Regions from separate parts of the Homo sapiens genome. Here region 2 is linked to region 1. The links are contacts of gene promoters, found by promoter capture Hi-C in human tissues and cell types (Jung and others, 2019). All regions are on one chromosome and are shown on one strand. Each heading gives the region's core, a stretch centred on a gene start or on the middle of the fragment in contact. The rest is flanking DNA. Distances are from core to core; before and after follow the strand shown. Region 1 holds the start of RBM24 (RNA binding motif protein 24). Region 2 has its middle 46 kb from the start of CAP2.

Region 1 (7,758 bases), core at 3,593-6,092:
AAAAAAAAAAAAAAATAGTAGTAGTTGGCAATAACAGTGAGGTACCGATATGTTAGAGTTGTAAGGAGGTGGTCATGGGAAATATAACTTTACTCTTCCAAGTCAAGTTATTATTAATTTCTTTTTAAAATCTATTCTTAGAGACACATATGGTAGACATCTATCTATGTAGACAGATTCCAGCCTTCCAGGTTACACAGGTAGATGTTTTAGGTCCTAAGCTAGAGGAGAAATTATTATTGAGGATAAAACACTCTTTCAACAACATGAACATTTAAAAAGAAAATTTAAGTATCCTGCGTTAGAGTTACAGGCATGTTGATCAGGTAGAACAGAGCCAAAACAGAATCTAGTGTCCAGGATAAATTGAGGCGAGGGGTGATCTCCCACCCATATAACCTCTGAAAGGAAGAGAAATGAGGACCTTGGAACAGGAAAACTGGTAATCACAGGACCCAAAGACAACATAAATATGAACAGGTGTTCACCTGAGTTAGATCTGAAAGGTGAAAGTTAGTGTGACGCTACTCAAAAAAACTGGCTTGTGTTAATAAAATCTGATGAGAGTTGTTGAACCTTTAAATTAGATGGCCTAAAAGTGGATACACATTGCAAAAGAAAGAACCCCATTCCCAGAAAATTTCCCATAAAACAGAAACTTAGGACATGCAAGCAATGAATCTGTATTCTGACAAAGAGAAATCACACAATTTAGCACTCACTACAAAAATGTGGTTAAATGGAAGTCACAGGCTACAGCTTAAAAGCAAGAAAAAAAAAAAGGCCCTTTGCTTCCCATGGCAAAGTCAAAAGTCAACACCCCTCAACACCACCACCAAAATCAAAACGCAAAGAGCCCCTTCCCCGAGGAAAAGAAAACACTTTCACTACAGCTCTTTTCAATTAAGTAAAAAGCACACAGTTTAGCTATCAACACCACTTCATTACTGTAATAAATAAAATAAAGCACACGAAGGGCTATTGACTATTGTGAAAAATAAAAACAACAACACCAACATCCATGCATCGTTAATCACCATCTGAGCTTGTGTGTCTGAGTCTACTGGTTACAGAGTTTAATTCCAAACAGAACTATTCCACCTCTTATCATGGTATCCTTCTGATCAGTTAGCTTAACTGTATACGAGCCCTGTCAGGTTAGAAAGAGATAAATAAAATTGAGTCAAGTCGAACAGTAGTAATGGTGATGGGACACAATCGTCTTGTACACAAGTCATACCTGGTATTTTTGTTTTGTTTTGCTAATCATAAGCTCAAAATTTGTCTCGTTTGGAGGCTGCATACTTGGTCAGATAACTTGACTCATCTAAAAATATTTATAGTATCAGCATTAAAAATGCACAAATATATATAAAATTGTATAACTAGGACCATTCTGTGACATCATGATCTTATCTGTATATAACAAAGAGGCACGTTAACAAATGATAGTCATACTGAAACTTAAGAAAGCCTGATTAATCAACTTACCCGAAAGGTCTTTGTATAAGGGCTGGATGAAGTTGTTGAACACCAAAGGCAAAACCTAACAACAAAATATACCACATTCTTTATTTGTGCATGGTTAGGCATTTATTATTCCTACATGTAAAATGCAATCACAACTTTCACTTATAAAAGATAAACATTCTTTCGCCACTTTAAAGAAACTATATGTATGTATATTTTTTAAAGTCAGTTTTATAAATGCTATCATTGATTCAAAATAAAGGTTTTAACAGAGAAAAGGTGAAAACTTTAAAAAAATCTGCAAATTTTAGTTGACAGACACAGAATCAGACCTTGGGAAAATGTTCATGAAATAAAATTAAGTACAGCAGGATTTGACAGTGAAGTTACATCTCAAATATTCTCACAGTTTTGAACCAGAATCTATGAAAAGTCTTTGTAATTTGGAACGTTCTGGGATGCTTCAGACAATGCTTTGGAAGATTATGGGTTTTACACTTTCCAGTATTAAAAATTCACAAAAAAAAATGTTTTTTTTCTGGATACTACATACCCACAATGTATTAGACAAATTTTTTTAACGCCCATGAATATTTGCACAAACACTCATTTTCTTGACAACCTAGTTTCCTTTTAAACCCGTTTGGATGGAAGTGTCAACCTCTTCCCAAAATTTCAGATGGAAAGGCTTAGGAGTGAAGAGTATATGATTTAATCAAACTTTACAAGTAAAGTTGCCTGACCAAAGAAAATATTATATTTGCTTAAAAATCAACTCTCAACTATTTGTGCTAATGCAAAGGGCAGTGTTGTAAATAATCCAAGAGGTATTGTTTTCCCATAGACAAAAAACTGCTCCCTTTTGGCAACTAATAGCTACATGACTTAAGTAAAATATTTCTCATCTCTAAGCATCAGTTTCTTTGTCTGTAGCATAGGGTTCTTGAGTAGGTGCAATTTCTGTTTTCTTTGATTGCTAATACTCTGTGATTTTATGTTGAAGGTTTACCATTTTGGGCCAGGCGCGGTGGCTCACGCCTGTAATCCCAGCACTTTAGGAGGCCAAGGCGGGTGGATCACCTGAGGTCAGGAGTTCAAGACCAGCCTGACCAACACAGTGAAACCCCGTCTCTACTAAAAATACAAAATTAGCTGGGTGTGGTGACACATTCCTGTAATCCCAGCTACTTGGGAGGCTGAGGCAGGACAATCACTTGAACCCAGGAGGCGGAGGTTGCAGTGAGCCTAGATCGCGTCATTGCACTCCAGCCTGGGCAACAAGAACGAAACTCCATCTCAAAAAAAAACAAAACCTTTACCATTTGGACATCGCCCCTACCCCTTAATGCTTCCCTTGGGTCTGTGTTCAAGTCAGACTGCCTGCTCTGAGCACAGTGCAACTGGTGCTAAAAGGAGAGACACCACTAAGTAGGGAAGTATATTAGCTGAAGTCGACAAATTTGGCCTATATAATCCACATGTGAATTATCTACAGGTGGCTAAAAATTGGAAAATTGAGAGCAGACTACAAATGTATGCCATATAGGAAACAGGTGAGACATGACTAACTCTTCTTCCTGCACGACCCCCAAGATCCATTTTTGCACACAGGTACATTTCAAGCCTTGAGAGGAGTATTTACAACTCTCATTTATGTTTAATGCCTTGGTAGAATAACAAGCCATGGTTCAAGTTTACTAAACACATCTACAGAAAGAGACAATGTCTTCTAAATTAGAGAATCATCCCACCCATAAATGGGGGGTTCTTGGAGAGGGGGGTAGGGGAGACAGACATTTCTCACCTGGTTGCATGATCCTTGGTTTTGCTCCTAAGTATGCCAGGTTCACGTTGGCCTTTCTGCCATCAATGATGGGATTGGGATCCTTGCAGGCCCTTTCGGCAGCAGCCCGGTCAGCCATGGTGACCTTAGCAACAGACACACACAGACATACATACATAACCTCTAAATTAACCCATGAAGGAAATCAAGAATCACAATGGAGAAGTCATTCATGATAAAACTGAGATCAAACTTTTTTTCTATTCTTTGCTTCTTTTGGCTGGACCCTCCTCCTTGATCTCCCATTTTTAACAGGCGGGCGGGGGCGTGGGGGGGGGGGGCGGGTAGACGAAGGAAAAAAGAAAGAAACCCTCTAACCCTGCCTCCCCCCACCCCACCGCCGAAATCTTAAGGGTGTTAGTAGGGCCTAGCCGAGATTTGGAAGCCTAAATTCTTGGAACTCTAGATCCTCCTTCCCCCGAATCCCCCGCCCCCCAGGTCCCTACTCAGCCTCAGAGGCACCGTTTGCTTTAAAGAAAGTCCAGCCTTACATCCGCCCAACGCTCCCAACCTCGAAAACACTCCCCAACGACAATAGCTATTGTCCTACTCTGGGGCTCCCTGCTCTTCGGCAGCTGAATTTGCACGCTTAAATCTCTAGGAAGGAAGCTTAATATGCTCTGTTTCAGTTCGGCAAAGAGCCCTAGGATCATGATTTAAAAGAACCTACCTTTGCAGTTAAAAGGCGGGGGGATGACACAAGGGCAACAGCCCCAGACCTCGTGGGGTGTCCCCTCCCTGCCCCAGCCAAAACACCAGAACACACGCATTTTTACAAAGCAACAGCGCGCTTAACAACCGGCATCCAGCCCGGGAATGCAATTGTTCAGGGTTGCGGCCCCTCCCTCGCAACCCTCCGCACCCCAAATCCCGCCGTCATTACAGGTCTCTCCTTTCACCCCTGCTCTGCCCTGCCCGGCCCCCGACCTCGCACAGCGCTGGGTCTTCTCCGAACCCCGCGAGGCTGGCGCCGACCCTCTCCCCTAGCAAAGTTTCAGTTCACCCCGGAGCGAAGGGGCAGCGCCGCTCTACCCGCGGGGCTCCTCACGGGTCACGCCGAGCCCCTCACTCCAAGCTCCCGATCCCCGGGGTCAGCCGCCACTCCGTCCCTCCCCGTCACCCCCAGTCCGTGCAACTTACAAATCCATAGCCCCGGGACTTGCCCGTCTGCCGGTCGGTGATGACCACCGCCTCCTCGATCTCGCCGAAGACCTCGAAGTACTTGCGCAGGCTGGCGTCGGTGGTGTGGTAGGGCAGCCCCCCGACGAAGATCTTGGTGTACGTCGTGTCCTTCTGGGTCGTGTGCATCTTCGCACCCGCCCCGCGGCTCGGGCTCCGGCTGCGGCTGCGGCTCGGGCAGCGGCTGCGCCTCCTCCTCCGGCTCCGCGTCTCCCGCACCCTTTCGCGGCCGCCGGGGGCCAAGGGCGAGCCCGGGGGCGAGGGCGGCGGCGCGGCGGGGGCGAGCGGCCGGGGGCGGCCGAGAGCGCCGGGCGCGCGGCTTCCGAAGTCGCCAGCGGCCCTGGAGACTTGACTTCGCTCTCTCCTCCCGCCCCCCCTGCCGGTCACCGTACAAATTCTCCGGATCGTCTGGATTAGAATCGGGTTCTATAGAATGTGCAAGCGGTTTCCACTCACCCGGCGGGGAGGCCAAAAATGAAAAGAGAGGGTAGTTCTCAAGCGAAGAAGCGGGTGCTTTAGAGGTAGATTTTTCTTCCTTAGGAATCAGGTGCCTTGGGTGGGGTGTGGGGAGGGTCCGCGGGAAGAGCGTCCGAGCGCCGAAGCGGGCGGGGGGCGCGGCGGCGGGGCCAGGGGCGAGGAACTCCGCGCAGCTTCGGCTCTGGTCTGTCCCTCCCGCCGTGGGATCTGGAAGACGAGTGCCGAGGACAGCTCTCCACCTCTCTGCTCCCTTCCCCCGCGGGCCGGGGGTCGACGCCCGGCTGGGGAGGGGGGCGGGCCGGACGCCTGCGATTGGCCGCGGCAGCACCTGGGGCGCCGGGCGCCGCCGCCCCCCAGCTGTTGGGAACAGCTGCTTCTCTCCCCGCGCGGCGCGGCGCTGGGGCTCGGGGCTCCCGCTCTGTAGCCGGCGATGGGGTAGGGCTGGAGACGCCTGTAGGCGGCCTGGCTCTCGGCGTCGCCTGCTCTAACCAGTCAAAGTCTTAGGGACCCGGCGCAGCACCAGCCGGGACCCAGGGTGCGGGGACTGTGCCCAAGGAGGAAGCTGCGTTGCTTTCCAGAGGGGACGACGCGAGCTTTTTGGGTTAGGCCTCGGTGACAGGGCCGGCGACCTGGACTGGCGAACTGGGGTCCCCAGAGGCCTGGGGCGATTCGCTGAGAGGCCAATCCCCTCCCGGGCGCGGGGGGTCAAGGAGCTCGGCCGAACGAAACCCAAGCTGGACACCCTGGGGTCTGAAGAGTGAGAAGGAGGGCCCCAACTTTCTTTGGCCCCAAAAAGCCAGTGCGGGGAAGTATCAGAGAGGTAGAGCCAGAAGGAAAAGAAAGATCTAGCGCTTGGGTGTAGTTGGGAAAACCATTAGCTTTAATTGCTACCGCCCAGCCAAACCAAGTAACCGGAGATACCTATGTCCATCAGGCACCGCCTTCTATTTCAGAGGACCATAAGTTAGTATTTTAGCCCCCACAGTCACCAAATTTGTCTTTCCTCCCTAACTTAGTTATTCAGGAAGATTGGTACAGATGTCTTAGCATAAGTCGTTCTTTTTTTTTTTTTTTCCCTAAACAAAGAATTAATCTATTTCTTTCTCTTTGAATTACAAGAATGTTTAGTGGCTTGACCTCATCTGTTTTTATCTGGATGTAAATGTAAAAGGTATAATTTTTGAAATCAACTTATTGCATAACCAGTGGTTTCTACCAGCAGACCTGAAAGCATTTGTAGAACATAGGGCACCCCATATATATTTATTACTTTACATCAGCTTTTTGCAACTTCTTTTAATTGAGAATTCATTCAATTAGGCCTTAAAATCAATCAGTCATACTTGAGGTTTGGATGAAAATATTTGATGTGAGCAGAAGGTTTCATCCACCATTGTTGGTGCACAATTGCCTTTTAAGTCCTTTCTACGGGAGTCTACAGTCCCTACATTAATCGCCCCTGAGCCGCACCATTTATTCCATTAAAACAATTCAGTATGTTAACCGTTAGAGAGGTGCATACTCTGTTTCTCTCCAGGACACCTTTGCAGTCAACCCAAGAGGGTGAGAAATGTTGCATTTGCAAAGGCTAATGGGAATGCAAATATTCTTGTGCAAAACATTAAATTCCGTTTTTCATCTTGCTGACTTCCTCATGAGGTTGACTTTTTGACGTCACTGGTTTCTTTAAGTTTGAACCCCCAGTGGGAGATATAGAGAAATCAGAAATCTATTAAAGTTAAAAACATTTTTTTCACCCGATTAAAAAAATAATAAAGAATTTTACAGACAGATGAGAGCCAGAAAGTGAAATTGTAAACACCCTCTCTTCATTACTTAAGTTAAAGGACAGGTTCAAAAACGACTCTCTGTGCTGGTATGATGAAAGATAATTTTTAAAAGTTAGAAAAACAAAGCAGGCGGGGAAAGAGAAGAGGCGTGTTTTTTAATATTCAACATCCATCTTGTGTCATTTAAGAATTACTGTACGTAGATGAGGCTCAGGCAAAACCCTTTTGTGAAGGGAAGCTGCTTAGAGAGAAGCCTTAGAAGGGCGCCTTTGGCTGTCTCGCCTTTCTTCCTACCTGGATTGGGAGCCCACCCTGGAGAGGACTGTGATAATATCAGGGAAGGAGGGTGTCTGGGAGTGTAGCCAGCAGCTAGGATGTTCACTAGGTAAAGTGGTGAGATCTACAAGGAAATTCTGATCCCGGGTTGGAATACTTGTGTCCTAGAACTCAGCTTCTGGAAATAAGACGCCTCCTTGTCATTGTCCCTCCCATCCCGTGCAACCCCTGACTGCAGTGTTTTTATTCTTTCAAGGGAACAGTAAATACTTGATCACTTTGCCTGAAACTTTGCCTGGACGGTCCCTAATTTTGAATTCCAGGGATAATTAAAACATTACTAATACACTGGTATTACGTGAGTCACTGAGAACAAAGGTTAAGAGGGATGGAGATTCCTTATTTTCCAAACGTATTTAAACGGAAGCCAGAATTCATACCCAGTTCATCTCAACAAACTTTCATCAAGACCCCCTTCCCTTCGCCCAGGCAAGCACTGTGGTAGGCATCATTGCTGCCCCTGTGGGTTTTGTTTTACATTTGCACCAAGGTGGACACAGTTAAAATGGCCAGATCCTCATTCTTGGTGGATTTACGAATCTGAGCCATCAAATCATGTAGCCTTGGGGCCATAAAGTTTTTCTGAATTCAAGGTTTCAAGGTTAAGTACCGAATATTTCTGTACAATTACTCATTACAAATTCAGGTTTGAAAAACAATGCT
Region 2 (7,758 bases), core at 1,609-4,108, 68 kb before region 1:
ATGAGGCAGGAGAATTGCTTGAACCCAGGAGGTGGAGCTTGCAGCGAGCCGAGATCGCACCACTGCACTCCAGCCTGGGTGGCAGAGTGAGACTCCATCTCAAAAAAAAAGAAAAAAGAAAAAAGTATTATGCATAGAAGGCAAAAGCTGAAAAACTGAAGTGGTTGAGGATTAGGTAGCTACAGTGGGTGTGTACCTCAGAGATGAAATCCATCAGTGAAAAAGAAATTTACATGGTTAAGTGTGGATCCTGGCTCTGATGCTATTACAGTATATATTCACTTTGTGAGGTAGTTCACATTTCTGAGTCTCATTTTCTTACTCTGCAAAATGAGGATACTTGAATGTATGATAATACCAAAAAAAAGAAGTTTTGCTGCATATACCCAGAGCCTAGAATAGCACCTGACATATAATAAGTACTCACTAGATCTTTGTTTAAAAAAACACAAATTAATTAAATGAGGTGATATAAAGATAACTGAATGCAAGAGGTAGCCAATATATTTTATTTCTCTTTTTCTGGTTCCTGCAAGGTATTTGATAAGGTTCTTCATAGTTTGTTCCTCATGAAGTAGAGGATTATGGGCTAGACATAAGGATGAGTAACCGATTCAATGGCAATAATCAAGGGGTAGATTAATGGATCACTAGCATTAAGTTTCAAGGCTTAGCATAAGACTATCCTTGTTATCTACTTAAATTTTTTTGTCATCTACTTGGGTAAATGTATAAAAGGTGTGGCACATCATATATTTGCAAGACACCAAGCTGAAAGAAAGGATATATGTAGGAAAGAATCTAGAGATTTTGATATATTGATACGAGGGACAGAATTAAATAGAATGGAATTTAGCAGGATAAATTTAAGGTCTTGTTTTGGGTCCAGAAAAATCCCAAAGTGTATGAACACGGTGGAGGAGACTATGTTTAAGTGACAGAGGTTTTCATCTTCAATAAACCCAATACCTATCAACTTTAGAGATTGTTTGTATCAAGCAGGTCATGCAATCTTGAGTTGCATTCATAAGAGAATGGTATTCTTCAAGTTAGGACATGGTCCCAATTCACTCTGTCATTTCTGGAAGGTTGCATTCTACTTCCAGAGTCCTGGTTCAAAAACAACACACAAAAATGAATTTGAGTTGAGAGATGACTGATCAGAGTAGTGAAGGGACTTGACACTATGTATGAGGTTTGATTGAAGAAATTGGGAAAATTTAGCCTGAATGAAAAACTTAGATGAGGATAACATATTGCTAACCTGTCTTATGGGAAGGGTATTACATTTGATCTACAAGGCACCAAGAGATAAACTATGATTGTCTGGGAGAATTAATAGACAGATTTTGTCCCATTATAAGGAATAACTGTTATGAGTAAAAACTGTCCAAAGATGGAATAAGCAATAGTGATTTTCTTCACTGAAAACATAATGGATGTCCTTTTAAAAAATCAGAAAACAAAAAAATGTTGAAATAGGCACATGGTTAATAGTTTGAAACATCATCATCTGTTAAAATTCGAGTATGCTAGAACTAAAATTGGCAGATGTCCATGCCGAGGTTGGCCCATAACTCCACAGTGAAGTTAACTACAGGATGGCACTTAGATTAATATGTAAGGCCTCTTCTGGCCGGGCACGGTGGCTCACCCCTGTAATCCCAGCACTTTGGGAGGCCAAAGCGGGCAGATCACGAGGTCAGGAGTTCGAGACCAGCCTGGCCAACATGGTGAAACCCCATCTTTACTAAAAATACAAGAATTAGCCAGGCGTGGTAGTGGGCACCTGTAATCTCAGCTACTTGGGAGGCTGAGGCAGGAAAATCACTTGAACTCGGGAGGCGGAGGTTGCAGTGAGCCAAGATCGCGCAACCGCACTCCAGCCTGGGCGAAAGAGCAATACTCCATCTCAAAAAAAAGTAAGGCCTTTTCCAATACATGTAAGACCTCTTTCAAATCTGGGAGCCTATGAATTCTAAATAATAAATGCGGGAAATATAGATTCTATTGAGATTGTAGCTCAGTTACTGACCTTGGTTCTAGGCCTCCCATGAATACGTGAGTATTAGTGTGATTCTTGGACTCTGTAAGGTTCCATTCACAGCTGGTTAACTAGAAATGGAAAGCTGATTCAGTTGCCAAGCAACTCAGATTTGGATAAAGATGCCACCCTGTTTTAGTGTACCACATAAGCAGATAAACAAACATTCTTTTAACTATGACTCAATCTTCCCTTGTGGGTACACTTATAAAATGAATCAAAGCACCAAGGCAGATATTTAGGTAATTCAGGGTAAAATTTTCTATAGATAAGTAATCTGATCATTTAAAAGCCCCAAATAGCTGACCCACGTGAATAATTTCCTCTATTCTACATCTCAGTGTGTGAGCAGGACAAAGTCTCAGCTGTGCACATTTATCCTTGAGAAAGTGATATATGGTGGAGCACCAGAGACAGACAAAGAAGACCACAGAACTAGTGGTAAGTGTGCAAATGTTTCTTCTATAATTTGATCACCTCCACAATGGAGTTGATTTGTGAGTTCAGATGTCTTTTTTTTTTTTTTTTTTTTGAGACGAGTCTCACTCTGTCACCCCCGCTGGAGTGCACTGGTGTGATCATAGCTTACTGCAGCTTTGACCTCCCAGGCTAAAGCGATCCTCCCTCCTCAGCCTCCTGAGTCGCTGGGGCCATGGGTGTGTGCCAGCATGCCCAGCTAATTTTTTAATTTTTTTAGAGACTGAGTCTCACTGTGTTGCCTAGGCTGGTCTCAAACTCCTGGCTTCAAGCAATCCTCCTGCCTCGGCCTCCCAAAGTGCTGAGATTAGAGGCATGAGCCCCCGTGCCAGGCCAAGATGTCTTTTTTTTTTGAGACAGAGTCTCGCTCTGTCACCCAGGCTGGAGTGCAGTGGCACGATCTCCACTCACTGTAAGCTCTGCCTCCCGGGTTCACACCATTCTCCCGCCTCAGCCTCCCAAGTAGCTGGGACTACAGGCATGTGCCACAATGCCCAGCTAATTTTTGTATTTTTAGTAGAGATGGGGTTTCACTATGTTGACCAGGCTGGTCTTGAACTCCTGACCTCGTCATCCGCCTACCTCAGCCTCTCAAAGTGCTGTGATTATAGGCATGAGCCACCGCACCTGGCCCAAGATGTCTTTTAAAAATAATCTTGGACCTGCCCGGCATGGTTGCTCACGCCTGTTATCCCAGCACTATGGGAGGCCAAGGCGGGTGGATCACAACGTCAGGAGATTGAGACCATCCTGGCTAACACAGTGAAACCCCGTCTCTACTAAAAATATAAAATATTAGCCAGGCGTGGTAGCAAGCACCTACATTCCCAGCTACTCGGGAGGCTGAGGCAGTAGAATCCCTTGAATCCGGGAGGTGGAGGTTGCAGTGAGTCGAGATCCCACCACTGCACTCTAGCCTGGGCAACAGAGGGAGACTCCGTCTCAAAAAAAAAAAAATAATAATGTTCTTGACATAATGTTTATTCACTGTTTCCCAACTTTGTGGGTATTAAAAATAATGTCACACTAAATATACACAATATATATATCCAACCAACATACCTGACATGATGCAAATGAATCTTCCGAATACAACTATTATTATTGTGATGCTTAAAAGCTTAAGCCAAAAAAAAAAAGTTTTCATGAGACAGTGGTGATGAAATATTGATATTTATCTATTTAATTTTAGCAAATCATTAAACTAGAAACTTTTTGCTTTTTTGTTAATTTTTTCTTTATTTATTTTTATGTTTTATTTTCAGAGACAGGGTCTCAGTTTGTTGTCCAGTCTAGAGTACAGTGGCAAGAACATAGTTCATTGTAGCCTCGAACGACTGGGCTCAAGCAATCCTCCTGCCTCAGGCTCCCAAGTAGCTGGGACTACAGGCACGCACCACTGCACTAAGCTAATTAAAAAAATATATATTTCGGCCGGGCGCGTTGGCTCATGCCTGTAATCCCAGCACTTTGGGAGGCCAAAGCAGGCTGATCACGAGGTCAAGAGATCAAGGCCATCCTGGCCAACATGGTAAAACCCCGTCTCTACTAAAAATACAAAAAGTTAGCTGGGTGTGGTGGCAGGCACCTGTAGTCCTAGCTACCCAGGAGGTTGAGGCAGGAGAATTGCTTGAACCTGGGAGGTGGGGGTTGCAGTGAGCCGAGATTGCACCACTGCACTCCAGCCTGGCAACAGAGCGAGACTCCGTCTCAAAAAAAAAAAAAAAATCAAAACTTCTTTCAACAATTCACTTACGTGCTTGCATTTAGAAGATGGTGAAGCTTCAAAATAATAAAAAGTGTATTTCAATTTTTTTGATTAAAAATAACATGTATTCTTTCTATAATGAAGAGAATCATCATTATTTATAATAAAAAAGAATTATGAAGTGTCCAATTATTCTAAGTGGAGGGCATGGCACTTGCTTAAACCATGCTAAAGAAGCCCTGGTTTGTGCCCTCATAGTGGGAGATGAGAAGTGAGGATGGAGTGAAAACCGAGTGCTGAGTCTGAAGGCTCTGTATTAGTCGTCTGTTTTATAGACAGAAGAGCTGGAAGCCACATCCCAATCACAGCTGAGGAGCCTGCAGTGATTGCAGATACAACCTTCTTTCCATCTCCCTACTCCACACACCCTACTGAGCCACCCCAACCCCACTCCCCTAACCTATGCTTCACTCTTGTGATTTCTAAGGGGTTTGTGTTGCCAGCAGCCCTGGAAGCCACCAGATCTGAGAGGCACAAGAGGAAGGGTGTTGATGGAAGTTTTATCTTAGCCTTGAAGGACAAATTGTTTGAGGGAGAAAAACTAGGCTGGATAAACATAAGGAAAATCAAATTCACTGAAGTCCACCTGGAGAATAGTACATTCTCCTCCCCCTAAAACGCACATGTTAGGGGCTCTATTTTACTATGTACCTTGTCATAATTCTAGAGGATGGGTATTACTATCATCCTTTTTACAGATAAAGAAATTGAGATGCAAATGGGTAAATAGCTGAGTCAAAATTTGTTTTCTCAGTCTTCTGAACATAAAGCTATCACTTTGCCTTCTGCTAAAGATTGTTTAGAGAAGACAGAATGAACAAGAGGAGAGGCTTCATTTAATTTAAATCACCACCCTCCCTACCTTTCTCTCCCTTAGATGGGCAGAGTTGACATCTACCTAAATCAGGGCCCTTCACCTTTCTCATTCCTCTTGCAGGTTCCTAAGATCATGAGCTCTTTAGGGAAAGGTCGTATCGGAGTCCTTTTTGTATCCCTAAGATCTAGCATAGTGCCTCACATCCAGCAGAGGTAGGGAATGAAGCCTATGGGGAAAAGCATATTTCCATACTATCTCTACTGAAAGATATGCAGGCTGGGCGCACGGTGGCTTATGCCTGTAATCCCAGCACTTTGGGAGGCCAAGGTGGGCAGATTGCTTGAGCCCAGGAGTTCAAGACCAGCCTGGGCAACAAGGTGAAACTCCATGTCTACAAAAAGTACAAAAATCAGTCAGGTGTAGTAGCCTGTGCCTGTGGTCCCAGCTACTCCAGAGGCTGAGGTAGGAGGATTGCTTGAGCTGGGGAGGTTGAGACTGCAATGAGCTGAGATCATACACTCCAGCCTGGGTGATGGAGTGAGACCTTGTCCCCCAAACAAACAAAAAACAAAACAAAAACCCCACAAAAATCTATGCTTTTGATTCTTTGTAACATAAATAGGATGTGTTGTGTGCTCTTTAAGATGCCTTCTGGCCCTAACCTTCTGCATTGACAGGAAAGCTTACATTTGTTTCCATAGACAACTGCAACAATATACTGGACTATGTAGTTCATATCATCAGTAGCACTTGCCAGCCCTTACAGAGCTCAGATTTGAGATGCGTAATTTACCACTTTAGAGGAATCTCATGTGCTCATAATGAATTAAGGAAAGCATACGGAAAACATGCCTGGACATTATTGGCAAATAATCATGGGAACTGGGGAATCAACTTATAGAAAATGCAATGATTTATTAAAATTTGGTGGAAGCCAGCCTGGAGACCTACTAACGAGTATATAATAAGCAACTTTTCCCTAGGAAGGAGATCCTTTATATGTTAAAAGGATTCTATTTGCTTATGGAGGTGTGAAAATGATAATTTTCAGAATCCAAAGATATATGGGCTTCTCTTTAGGAGGATATTATGCCAAGGTAAAATGAGAACCATAATACCAATATGTTTGTATGTACACACAGGAGAATTTTTAAAAATCCAATTAATTCTTAATTTAATACGTTGTCTTAGTAACTACTATTTCAAGATGCTCAGTGCTTACAACATAACTCATAGCTTTACCAAGGCAGGAGAAAAATAGAAAAAGACAGAACCTTAAAATACCTTTGCCAATTAAATCCTGAATTATTTTTGACTCTGAGAATAGTCAGTCATTTACTTAAGCTGCGAAGGATGATAAAGAACACATTGAATCTTCATGCCTCCACTTACATTTTCATTATTTCACAACCTTGAATGTGTTTTGGGGTTCCATACAATCGCCTTTACCTCCAAATCCAAGATGTTAAAAATAGATGTAAAGACCAGCTTAGTATCAGATCTTTACCTTGAAGGCTAAAGCCAAAATAATGGAGTTCATGACCTGAGTCACCAAATTCCCATAATCCCAGGGCAATTTCAAGAAATCCATAAAATGTGAAAAGTAAGTGATAAGAGCTACAAACTGCACACCAAAACAAGCTCATGCTTTCTTATTAACTCTTTGCAATGAAAGTTCATTGTTGAAAGTCAAAATGTCTGGATAGGTTCATGGCAAGCCTCAAAGGTTTACTTAAAATTCCAAAAACTGCCCTTTAATAGGCCTCTTATATTATAGTTTCTTATGGCAGGTCCCATTCATTGGCTACTAAAAAGCTATTCCCAACCCCCTTTCCCTTGCCATCCCCACTCCGGAGGCTTAACAGCCAAATATTTAGCTTCCTATAGCTTTTCATCTAGCTAGGGGAAATGACATGATGACACTGGGTCCATGAGACATAAGCAGAATCCTGCTGGGGCATGTCTAGGTGAAACTACTGTCCCCAGGACAAGGGATAGATGTGCCTAGAGAGTCTTTCTTCGTTTCCTCTTATTCCTACTTTGAATGCAAACGTGACATCTGGAACTTTTACATTATTTGGACATCATGAAGCCACAAGCATAAAGGAAAGGCCAAGAAACTTTCAGGGACCCATGCCACTGGACTAATAAATGCCAGCAGCCACCTACCTCCATGCTCTTTTTTTTTTTTTTTTTTTTTTTGAGACAGAGTCTCACTTTGTCGCCTAGGCTGGAGTGCAGTGGCGCAATCTCAGCTCACTACAAGCTCTGCCTCCCAGGTTCACGCCATTCTTCTGCCTCAGCCTCCTGAATAGCTGGGACTACAGGTGCCTGCCACCATGCCTGGCTAAATTTTTTGTATTTTTAGTAGAGACCAGGTTTCACTCTGTTAGCCAGGCTGGTCTCAATCTCCTGACCTCATGATCCGCCCGACTCGGCCTCCCAAAGTGCTGGGATTACAGGCGTGAGCCACCGTGCCTAGCCCCTCCATGCTCTTAATAGGACAAAAATCAACCCTTATTTGTTTAGAACACTATCAGTTGGATTTTGTGTTCCTTGCAGCCAAAAGCATCCCTAGCTGATAGGGTGTTTTACATACATCATTGATCTTTCCCAGAACACCCTGAAAGGTAGCCATTATCATCCCTATAA

Evidence for each region. Contacts are between HindIII fragments. The study calls those that stand out against the background at their distance.
Region 2: a fragment that was not itself captured here is called in contact with the fragment with the promoter of RBM24 in region 1 in 3 of the 25 tissues and cell types used here (hippocampus, mesendoderm cells and thymus).

Annotation. Positions count from the first base shown.
Region 1 is chr6:17,278,445-17,286,202 of GRCh38, reverse strand. It overlaps RBM24 (RNA binding motif protein 24), which reads right to left and starts at 4,842. Exons shown (of 4, transcript NM_001143942.2): 1 at 4,454-4,842; 2 at 3,275-3,398; 3 at 1,492-1,546. The coding sequence starts at 4,621. The HindIII fragment of the contact is 10,579 bases long and covers 699-7,758 here.
Region 2 is chr6:17,344,016-17,351,773 of GRCh38, reverse strand. No RefSeq gene overlaps it. Among named protein-coding and RNA genes, the nearest start is that of CAP2, 46 kb to the left of the region's middle. The HindIII fragment of the contact is 4,376 bases long and covers 671-5,046 here.